2 separate regions of the Homo sapiens genome follow, and region 1 is linked to region 2. Evidence: promoter capture Hi-C in 16 types of primary human blood cells and fetal thymus (Javierre and others, 2016). All regions are on one chromosome and are shown on one strand. The core of a region is centred on a gene start or on the middle of the fragment in contact, and the rest is flanking DNA. Distances in the headings are between cores, read along the strand shown.

What was found. Contacts are between HindIII fragments. The CHiCAGO score rates a contact against its expected background, and 5 or more counts as called.
Region 1: a contact is called between the fragment with the promoter of CSNK1G2-AS1 here and the fragment with the promoter of LINGO3 in region 2, in 1 of 17 cell types (neutrophils). The highest score is 5.1, in neutrophils.

What each region holds. Positions count from the first base shown.
Region 1 is chr19:1,951,610-1,956,696 of GRCh38, reverse strand. CSNK1G2-AS1 (CSNK1G2 antisense RNA 1) reads left to right here and starts at 2,148. Exons shown (of 3, transcript NR_033400.1): 1 at 2,148-2,854; 2 at 3,191-3,311; 3 at 3,686-4,170. All of the region lies in intron 1 of CSNK1G2 (casein kinase 1 gamma 2), which reads right to left. RefSeq lists an enhancer at 816-1,767. The HindIII fragment of the contact is 8,344 bases long and covers 1-5,087 here.
Region 2 is chr19:2,305,994-2,310,787 of GRCh38, reverse strand. LINGO3 (leucine rich repeat and Ig domain containing 3) reads left to right here and starts at 2,634. Exons shown (of 2, transcript NM_001101391.3): 1 at 2,634-2,712. The HindIII fragment of the contact is 8,822 bases long and covers 2,163-4,794 here.

The DNA.
Region 1 (5,087 bases), core at 899-3,398, 350 kb after region 2:
CCCAACACTCAGTCTACCCAGATGGGACTGGACACACCCCACCCAGCCCCTCTGTGGAGGGTCAACACCAACCACTGAAAGGGCCAATGCCGCAGGGTAAGCGCCTGTGCCACAGCCACAGCTGCCGGGTCTGAGTACAGAGTGGCCTTGCCGGCTAGGATGCGTGGTCTTTTGTTTTTTGAGACAGGATCTAGCTCCATCACCCAGGCTGGAGTGCAGTGGCAGGATCTCGGCTCATTACAACCTCCGCCTCCCGAGTTCAAGCAATTTTCCCGCCTCATCCTCCCAGGTAGCTGGGACCACAGGCATGAGGCACCATGCCGTCTGATCTTGGCTCAGCTACATGCGTTCTGGCTTTTGCAGAACAAAAAGCACCAAATCCCCATCCCAGCTGCACCTGCACAGATGACAAGCCCCAACCCCCAGAACCTGTGACGTGAGCGCTGCCCTGCTGGGTCTACCCACTGCTGGGTCTAGGGCCCCACTGCTCCTGGCATCCCCCTGGAAGCCTCCTTGTGCGACCCCCGGCCCCTCGTCTGGGTGGTGACCATCACCTCTCAGGTCCTGGCTCCCGCAGGGCCTCTCGGCACCCCTGCCCCATGACCTGGAGGCAGGAGGATGAGAAAGGGGCAGGCCCTGCACTCAGGGACCCAACGCTGTCGGGAGCTGGGGTGAAGGCCAGCCCGGGCTGTGTGCCGACCCTGCTCCGCCCGGCCAACGAGCAGGCTGCCCCGCTGGCGTCTGTTCTGATACAGTGGTCTTGGCTGTTGTGGCCCAGGCAGGTTGGGGTTGCTACTTTCTCTCTGGCCCCCTGGATGAGCACTGGCCTCCCTGTGCCCGGCCTCAGGGCCGGCCGGGAGCAAACCCCACTGTGCCCTGCAGAGCTGAGCCACACAGATGCACACCCGGCTTTGCAGATGGAGCCCGGAGCCGAGCAGCAGCCTCCTCCGGTGACAGCAGTGGCACGGGGGTCCGCTGAGCACTCCCTGCACCCTCAGGGCTGGATCCCGCCTCCAAGCATCTCACGACAGCCCCTCTGAGGGGGTCGTGGGCGGACAGCAGAGGGAGGGCCCAGCCACACCCACCCTAAGCCTGACATGGACGGAGAAGCCCCTGACCTGGGCGCTGCCCCCGACTCGCGGAGCCTCGCCCAGGCACACGCCCACCCCGCGGAGCCTCACCCTGGCACACGCCCACCCCGCGGAGCCTCGCCTCAGCCTGAGCCTCAGTGGGGGGCGCTGACCCACAGCCGGTGAAGGGCAGCCCAGTGGAAAACGGGAGCACTGCTTGCACACCTGCCGCCCACGGTGGCCGCTAGCCCACATCCCCCACCTCAGGAGTGGCCCCGAGAGTCACCGCCTGCGCCTGAGGCCCTCGCAGCAGCAGCAGCAGCAGCAGGAGGGCAGTCAGAGGACAGGCAGGGCCGCCACCCTGGGCTGTGTTCCGTGGGCACAGGGCGGGTGCCCAGCTCCCCCTGCCCCCACAAACAAGAGCCGCCACTCCAAGACTCAGCAGCTTCCGAGGGCGCAGATCACTCCCTGGAGGCGGTCACCACTCGGTCAGGGCCCAGCACCCGTCCATCACCAAGGAGGAAGAGCCCGGCCTCTTCTGGGGCTCTCCGAACCCCAGGGGGTGCCCAAGGGAAGCCAGACAAGGCCGGGGCCTGGAAGGAAGCGAGGACGTAAAGGCTGGGCACCCACAGTGCCCACGCAGGCCTGGGGGTTGGGGGCCTGCCCTGTTGCCTGAGGGCCACAGCGAAAAGCAACAACCCCAGGGAGGGACGAAGGGACGCTGATCCTCACCCAGCCTCCACCCAACCCACGCAGCCACGATTCCGTCCCAGGGGGCGAGTGCCGGCTCCGGGTCACACGCCAAGGATGGCTCCCGGGCGCCAACGAGGGGATTGCAGCCATCCCACAAGGGGCTGCTCTCTCCCCGTCAGCTCCCATCCCCTTCCCCAGCCCTAGCCTCAGGCTGCTACCTGCCCTGTTCTTTTCGGGGTCCTCCATCTGGTCTGGGCCCAGGGCCAGTTCCCTGGGGAGGGCCCCGGGAGCCCCCTTCTCTGACTGTCTCCACTGAGTGATGTCACAGTCCCTGGGCTGACATCACCACACAGCCCTCAGCCCAGAGCCCAGGGCAAAGCTGAAGGGAGGCCAGGGACCTCACTGGGCTGGGCAGGTGCAGGCCACCGCCGTCCCAGTGCCCTCAGAGGCACCTAGACTCATGTGGACCCGGCCGCAGACCGTTCTGGGCAGCTCTGTCCAGGCCGGCCCTGCCCTCTGACCTGGGGCCGCAGGGGCTGGCCACTGTGGGCTCGGTTCCCTGCCACCCCAATTCATCTGCACCCCAAGGAAAGAAAATGAGGGGTTGCAGCGCCCCAGGACCCAAGAGCCCCCGAACACCAGGGCAGCACATACTTCCAGTGCCAGGGCCACAGCAGAGCGGGGCCAGGCCCAGCCCAGTGACGCAGGGCAGACGGAAGGGCGCCCTCCACAATGGAGGGGCGCAGGAGCTGCCGCGGCCAGGACAAACCAACCTCAGGCTGACCTAGGCCGGTAATGGGTTTAACGCATCAGGTGCAAAAGAGAAACACCCCACAAATCAGGGAGAGGAGGGAAGCCGCCCACCCCATGGGAGGAAGCTGAGGAGTGAACGCCAGGGATGGGCAGGGCCGGTCCTCGGAGCACTGCAGACACCAGACCAAGGGCGACTGTCATCACCACGAGAAGGCCCCGTCCATGGCAGAAGCCAACCTCACCGCGCCGACTGCACCGGAGACGCCCACGAGGACAGCCGGCCTCTGAGAACGCAGCTGAGCCGTCACAGGTCGCCATCAGCAAAGGCAAGAGTCCAGGTAAAGAACACAGGAGGGCCACAGGTGATCGCGGTACAGCGGCCAGGACCGGACCCTGATGCGGGGGGAGGGGGCAAGGCTGCACAATGGCAGCTGGGACCAGACCCTGTTGGGGGGATGTGGGGGACGGCGAGGCTGTGCAGGGACCCCGTCCCACAGGTCAGCCTCGCCCTGGTGATGGCACAGACCACAGGTGAGGGCCACGGGCAGAGCTGACCAGGGAAAAGCTGGCACTCACCCAGCACCGGACACATAAGGCAAACACCACCGGCAGCCTTGGCGGAGGGCACTGTCCCTGCAACTAGTCCACATAGGGGCAATTTTCCCAAAATTCAGATTATGCAAACGGAGGCAAGGCTGCCATGGACTCCAGAGCCTCAGACGCCATCAACAAAAGCAAAGTGGACACATCTGCATCAAATCCATCACAAAGACGGCCTTCCAGACTCCGGGGGAAGTGAGAACACCCCCACCCAGGCCCCCATGGCGCACAGGCCCCCACAGCAACCCTGCGCCACCTCAGCAGCCTCAGCTCTGCTTCCTGCTCCGTGGCCCGGGGGCAGAGCTGACCTGGTCTTGCCAGGGGGGCAGGGGTCCCCGGTCCCAAGTGGTGCCACAGACAGCGGGGGGAACGTGCAGGCAGAGTCAGGCACCCCACCAGGAAAGAAAGCTCCCACGGCAGGTCCCGGGGGCGAGTGGGACCCGGGGTGGCTCCCATCGGAATCCTGCTACATCTGAGAGGACACGGGTCCTTCCAGAAGCGTAACCATGAACGGCCGTGGAAAACCTGGGTGGGCTGCGTTTCTACATTTCCTTTGTTTTTTTTTTCAGACGGAGTCTCGCTCTGCCACCCAGACTGGAGTGCCTTTTCCCCTCATCGTGTGGGAGCCGCCGGGCGACATCCCGCCCCGGTTTCCCTCCACTCGAAGGCAGTCACCTCGGTTGCCAGCTCCTGCCTCTGTGATGATCCCCACGAGGGCTGCAGAGTGAAGGGCACAGCAGGGTTCGGCCTAACTCCCCGGGGAGCCCTAGGCGAGAGGGCTTGGTCCTGGGGAGCTGCCCAGGTCTTCTATATCCCCTGGCCTCCATCCAGTCCCGCACGACTCAGCTCCTGGCCCTGTGCACCGGGCGACGCCTGCTAGGCGCATGACCCTCAGAGTCAGGCCTGTACTCACCTCAGCATCTATCAAGGGCCTTCAAGGATCGGGTTTTTTTAATCATCGTCAAATATATCGTTACTAAAAAGATACGTACACTTTGGGAGGCCGAGGTGGGAAGATCACTTGAGGTCAGGAGTTTGAGACCATCCTGGACAACATGGTGTAACCCCGGTCTCTTCTAAAAATACAAAAATTATCCGGGCATGGTGGCGGACGCCTGTAATCCCAGCTACTCGGGAGGCTGAGGCAGGAGAATCACTTGAACCCGGGAAGTGGAGGCTGCAGTAAGCCAAGATGGCACCACTGCACTCCAGCCTGAGCGACAGAGCAAGACTCTGTCTCAAGAAAAAAAAAAAAAGTTGAGCACGTGGAAGCATCCCGCCCTCCGCCACTCGGGCATCATCAGTGCTCACAGGCCGCAGATGACACACGCTATCGGCGCACTAGCTTCTGCCCCCTGGGCCCTCGTCCAGCCCTGCACCCACTGCCCACTGAGGGGCCAAGGTGTGCTTGCTGTCCTGCAGTGACCATCACGACCCCTTTCACACAGAAGGGTTGGGCTATCCCCGAAAAAGACATGCCAAGTCCTAGCCCCCAGTAAACAGGAACACGGCCTTATGTGGAAATGAGGATGGCCCCAATCTCACCACTTCTCAGCTTAAGGTCCTGTTTCATGATGTTGAGTCAGAAAACAGCAGAGAATGGCCGGGCCCGGTGGCTCTCGCCTGTAATCCCAGCACTTTGGAAGGCCGAGGCGGGTGGATCACGAGGTCAGGAGATCGAGACCATCTTCGCTAACACGGTGAAACCCCGTCTCTACTAAAAATACAAAAAATTAGCCAGCTGTGGTGGCGGGCGCCTGTGGTCCCAGCTGCTCGGGAGGCTGAGGCAAGAGAATGGTGTGAACCCGGGAGGCGGAGCGTGCAGTGAACGGAGATCACACCACTGCACTCCAGCCTGGGCGACACAGTGAGACTCTGTCTCCAAAAAAAAACAGCAGAGAAGAGGAAGGTGGGGAGGGGTGGACTCTCACCGCTTCCTCCCGCCCAGCCTGCACATCCTGAGGGCACCCA
Region 2 (4,794 bases), core at 1,385-3,884:
AAAGAAGAGAGGGTAGAGCTTGCACTGGACCCATCAGCAAATTACTGGACATCTTAGCAGGCATGTGCCACGCAGGGAGAGATGGAAGGTCGGGGTGGAGACGCGAGTGAAGAGGGGGAAAGGGGCGGGCAGAGGTCTGGGGGAAGGGCGTTCTAGGCAGAGGGAGCAGCCCGTGCTCAGGCCCTGCAGTAGGAGCCTGGCCCAATCTCCACCCCCAAGGGCTCGGGAGCACTGGCCACAAACCGGGCAGAACCACTGCAGAGTCTCTGCAGCCCCGGGAGAAGATGGGAACTGTTCCGATCTCCATTTTGCAGAGGTGGAGACCGAGGCTAGAGGGACATCCCCCACGGTTACACAGGCAGGGCCTCGACTGGACCCCAGCTGGCATCCCTCACCCTCCAGGACTCATAGCAAGTGTCTCCTCCTCCGGGAAGCCTCCCTGGCCCCTGGCTTCGGTCCGGGACCCGGTGTCACTACTGCCTCTTCCACGCCGCTTTGTGACGATTTCATATTTCAGGCATCTGCTCCCTCTGTCCGAAGAAATCCCCCTTGAGGCTGGAAGCGTCTCCTCCTCCTCCCTCCAGCCCTTGGCCTGGTATACAGTAGGTGCTCAATGAACACCTTCCTCCAAGAGCCCTGAGAGCCAGCTATCAGGAGCATCACTTTACAGAGAAAGAAACACGTTCAGAGAGAGAAGGAGACCTCCCCTACTGGGGTCACACAGCACAGCAGCCCAGGGCCATTTGGTGGGGAGAGCATGGGGTGTCATGAAGTCCTTCTGGACCTCTCTGGGGCCAGGAATTGAACCATACCCGCCCCCCACAGCATCCTGTGGGGGGCCTGGCCTGCAGCCTCCCAGGGATGCGGTTTCTGGGCCTCCAGCCAACGCGACAGTCTGGGAACAGAGCCTGCTTGAGTCACAGGTGGCTGCGTGAGTGCCAGGCCACCGCCAAAGCCACTGGGAATACACAGCTGGTGGGGAGGACTGCAGAGTGGGTGAAGGGGGCAGACAGGGCAAGGTTACACACACAGGTTCCCGAGGCCTCCTTCTCACCCCTCACTTGGGACAAATGGCATCTCCCAGCCTTGGTTTGCTCATCTGTGAGACAGGGAGGCTAAATGTGGCTTTTAGAAGATGCAGTGAGGGGCCGGGCATAGTAGCTCACGTCTGTCATCCCAGCACTTTGGGAGGCCGAGGCGGGTGGATCACCTGAGGTCAGGAGTTCGAGACCAGCCTGGCCAACATGGTGAAACTCTATCTCCCCTAAAAATACAAAAATTAGCCAGGCATGGTCATGGGCGCCTGTAATCCCAGCTACTTGGGAGACTGAGACAGGAGAATCGCCTGAACCCGGGAGGTGGAAGTTGCAGTGAGCCAAGATTGCACCACTGCACTCCAGAATGGGTGACGAGAGCAAAACTCCATTTCAAAAAAAAAAAAAAAAAAAAAAGACAAAAAAAAAGGTAAAAAACTTTCCATGAGCACTCGCAGTGCACTTGGTGTGTGCGCTGCTGTGTGCTAGGCGGAAGGCACATTGGGGAACAAGCCCATTAGACAAACTGAGAGGCTCCAAGCTGCTCGATGGAGGGACAGAGAGAAAGGCTGTCCAAGCTGGGCACAGCGAAGATCAAAGGCCTGGGACTGGAGGGACTTGGCCTGTTTGAGGAAGGCTGAGGGGGTGGAGCCCGGGAAAGAGTGAGTGAGGACAGGCCAGGGGGAAGGAGGTGGTGCGGCAGACCAAACAGTGCAGGCAGCCGGGCGGTGGCTCACACCTGTCATCCCAGCACTTTGGGAGGCCGAGGTGGGTGGATCACCCGAGGTCAGGGGTTTGAGACCAGCCTGGCCAACATGCTGAAAATCCGTCTCTAATAAAAATACAAAAATTAGCCGGGCGTGGTGGCGGGTGCCTGTAATCCCAGCTACTTGGGAGGCTGAGGCAGGAGAATCGCTTGAACCCAGGAGGCGGAGGTTGCAGTGAGCCAAGATGGCACCGCTGTACTCCAGCCTGGGCAACAGAGCAAGACTCCATCTCAAAAAAAAAAAGAAAGAAAGAAAGAAAGAAAGAACGAAAGAAAGAGAAATTCCAGGGTAGGTGGGGTGCAGACGGGACCCTCACGGCAATAGGGAATCACGGCAGGTTCTGGAGCCCAGTGGCTAAGCTTCCTCTGAGGGGCTTCCTCTGAGGGCCACATAAGGAATGGGCCTGGGCTGGGCTGTGGCAGATGTCCAGGTGCAGATGGTGGCGGCCTGGACTAGGGGTGGGGGACGGGGGGCAGAGGAGGCGATGGTAGCTTCCAGAAGGTTCCACACGGAACAACCTGCTGCACTTGGGGTGCCCCTGCGTTTATTGCACGGCACGGCCGTCTCCGCAGGCTCACCCAGGCCGTGGGGACAGGAGGTCCTCGGACACGAAGCGCCCGGGATGCGCACGGAGGGGTTCTGCACCCGCGCTCCCAGTGTCCCCGCACCTGCGCCCACGTGGCCTCTCACACCTGCGGCCCCAGCCGCCGCGCACGCGGCCCAGCGCAGCCCCCGCGCGCCCCCGCCAGGCGCGCCGAGGAGACCGGCGGGCGGTTGCGCGCGGCGGCGGCGCGCACGGCGGAGCCCGGGAGGCGGCGGCGGCGGCGGCGGCGGCGGCGGCGGCTGCTCGTGTCGGCTCCGGGCGGCCCCCGCGCCGCAGCCCGCGCCGTGTCCGCGGCGGAGCCGCCCAGGTGAGTGGCCGTGCCGGGGCCCGGCGTGGGGCGCGCCCGCAGACCTGGGGACCCCTCACCTGCACCCTGCGACCCTGCCGCCCAAAGCCCCCAACCCGCGACCCCATCCTCAGCCGGGGGAAATTGCCCCGCGCACCCCTCCCGGGCTCATCGCTCCTTGCCAGGCCCCCGACGCTCCCCCTGGAAACTTTGGGGGCGAACTCCCCACCCTGGGGCCCCCCGCCCCTCCTCTGGGGCGCCAAGGAGCGGGGAATCGGGTGGGCATCTCCCCGGGGCACTGGGGACGCTGGGAGGATGCGCTCCTCTCCAGGAGGAGATGAAGGGGGCACTGGTTGGGTCTGGGGTGTGGGGAACGTCCGAATAGAGCCTGCAGCCCGCGCCTTCCTGCCCTGTCTCCCCCGAGCCGGGTCTGGTCCAGCCTGGGGGTGCGGAGCTGGAAGACGCAAAGGGTATCTGGGGTCCACACCGGAGCCTGCTCCATCGCTGGAGCTGACGGCCCGGCCTGGCGGGGAGGGACCTGGGGGCATAGGGCTGAGTCCCCCTGCTCTGGGGGCGTCTGAATAGCACCAGAAATGGTGGGCCTGGGCACCCTGAGTGGGTGCCGCCACCTCCCGGGCCTCTGGGGCCTGGCCAGGGGAGGCCCTGAGTCCCATTCAACAAGTTTAGGGGAGCAGCACCTCGTGCCTTGGTCCGGGCACAAGAAAAGCCCCGGGTCCTTACGCTGGAGACCACCATGTAACTGGGTTTCTCAACGTGTGCTTGGGGCGCTAACGGTGCCGGTGTCCCGGCCCCCCCAGTTCTGAGGAGTCAGAACTTCTGAGGCGATGTGCCCCAGAAGCTGCATTTTAGCAAGCGGTCCCTGGCTAAACCATGGACGCAGCGAGGCTGCAGACACCCTTGCTCCGGCGGGGGTGGGGAGCGGGCGTCTGCTGTGCAGTGGTATTTGCAGAGGGACGATCTGGGGCTTGGCTGGGGGGAGCCTTCAGGGACAACAGAGCTGTGAGAACCAGAGCAACCCAGGAGGGCTCCCTGGAAGTGGCCTGGAGAGGATGCAGAAGGTGTGAGGTGTGAGTGGTCAGGTGGAGGACGCAGGCTGGAAACAGGTTCAGGGAGGGTGGTGCTGGCTTTATCAGGAGGCTGGTGTGGGGTGGGCTGCCGCGGCATGGCCTTACCCTGGCTGTTCTCTGAGCCGAAGCAGCAGCCATCGTCGGAGACAGGATCTGAGTGGGAAGAACCCACGGGCTTCCCCTGTAGACCCAGCTCCTGTCCCCATCTCGATGATGTGGGGTGGCAGGAAGGGGGCAGCCGGGCGGTGGGATGGGGGCTTAGGAGGGTTCAACTCAGCCTTCCCTGCCCTGCCTGTCTGGTCTTCACCGGTGACTTCCGGCAAATGACGTCCCCTCTCTCAGATCCACCCCACATGGGATTAAATGAGATGCTGCCCACCTCGGCTGCAGTGTGGTGCCACCATAAAACAGATGCTCAGGTCACGATGGTTACGGCAGCAGCCCTGCCTGGCCTCCCTCAGCCTCAGCCGTCCACCCCCAGGGTAAGCCGGGACCTGAAGGTGCCTTGCTGAGTGGGAATAGAAGGCAGTTTGATGTCTCTTCCCACAGCACTGTCATTCCCCGGCGCCCCCTGAGTCACTACCTCGTCACCAGGTAGAGCCTCTTGAAGAACTCTGCGAGCAAAGTTGGCCCCGGGTGGGCCCCATCAAGCCGCCCACCACCACATGTCAATCTCGGGCCTCCAAAGAGCGCCCTTCACCCTCTAGTGGGGAGCTGGGATTTTGTGGGTAGGAGCTGGCGTCAGATCCAGGTTCAAATGCTGACTGTCTGCAGCTAAGTTGTGCAGTGAGCTGGGGCCCACTCTGACCCTCAGTCTCCTTCTCTCCAAAACGAACTTTATTATTCCCCCTAGTCAGGGCTGGGCTAGTGGGTGAAGTGGCCGGTGTAGACAGTGGGTGCTCCAAAACTGGTTCCAGATCCAGAGGCCCTGCCTGCAGAGGGCAGTCCACGGCCCCCCGTGTACAGGCTGGGAAGGAAAGTGGGTCGGGAGGCCCCCAGCCCCTCGAGGGGTTGA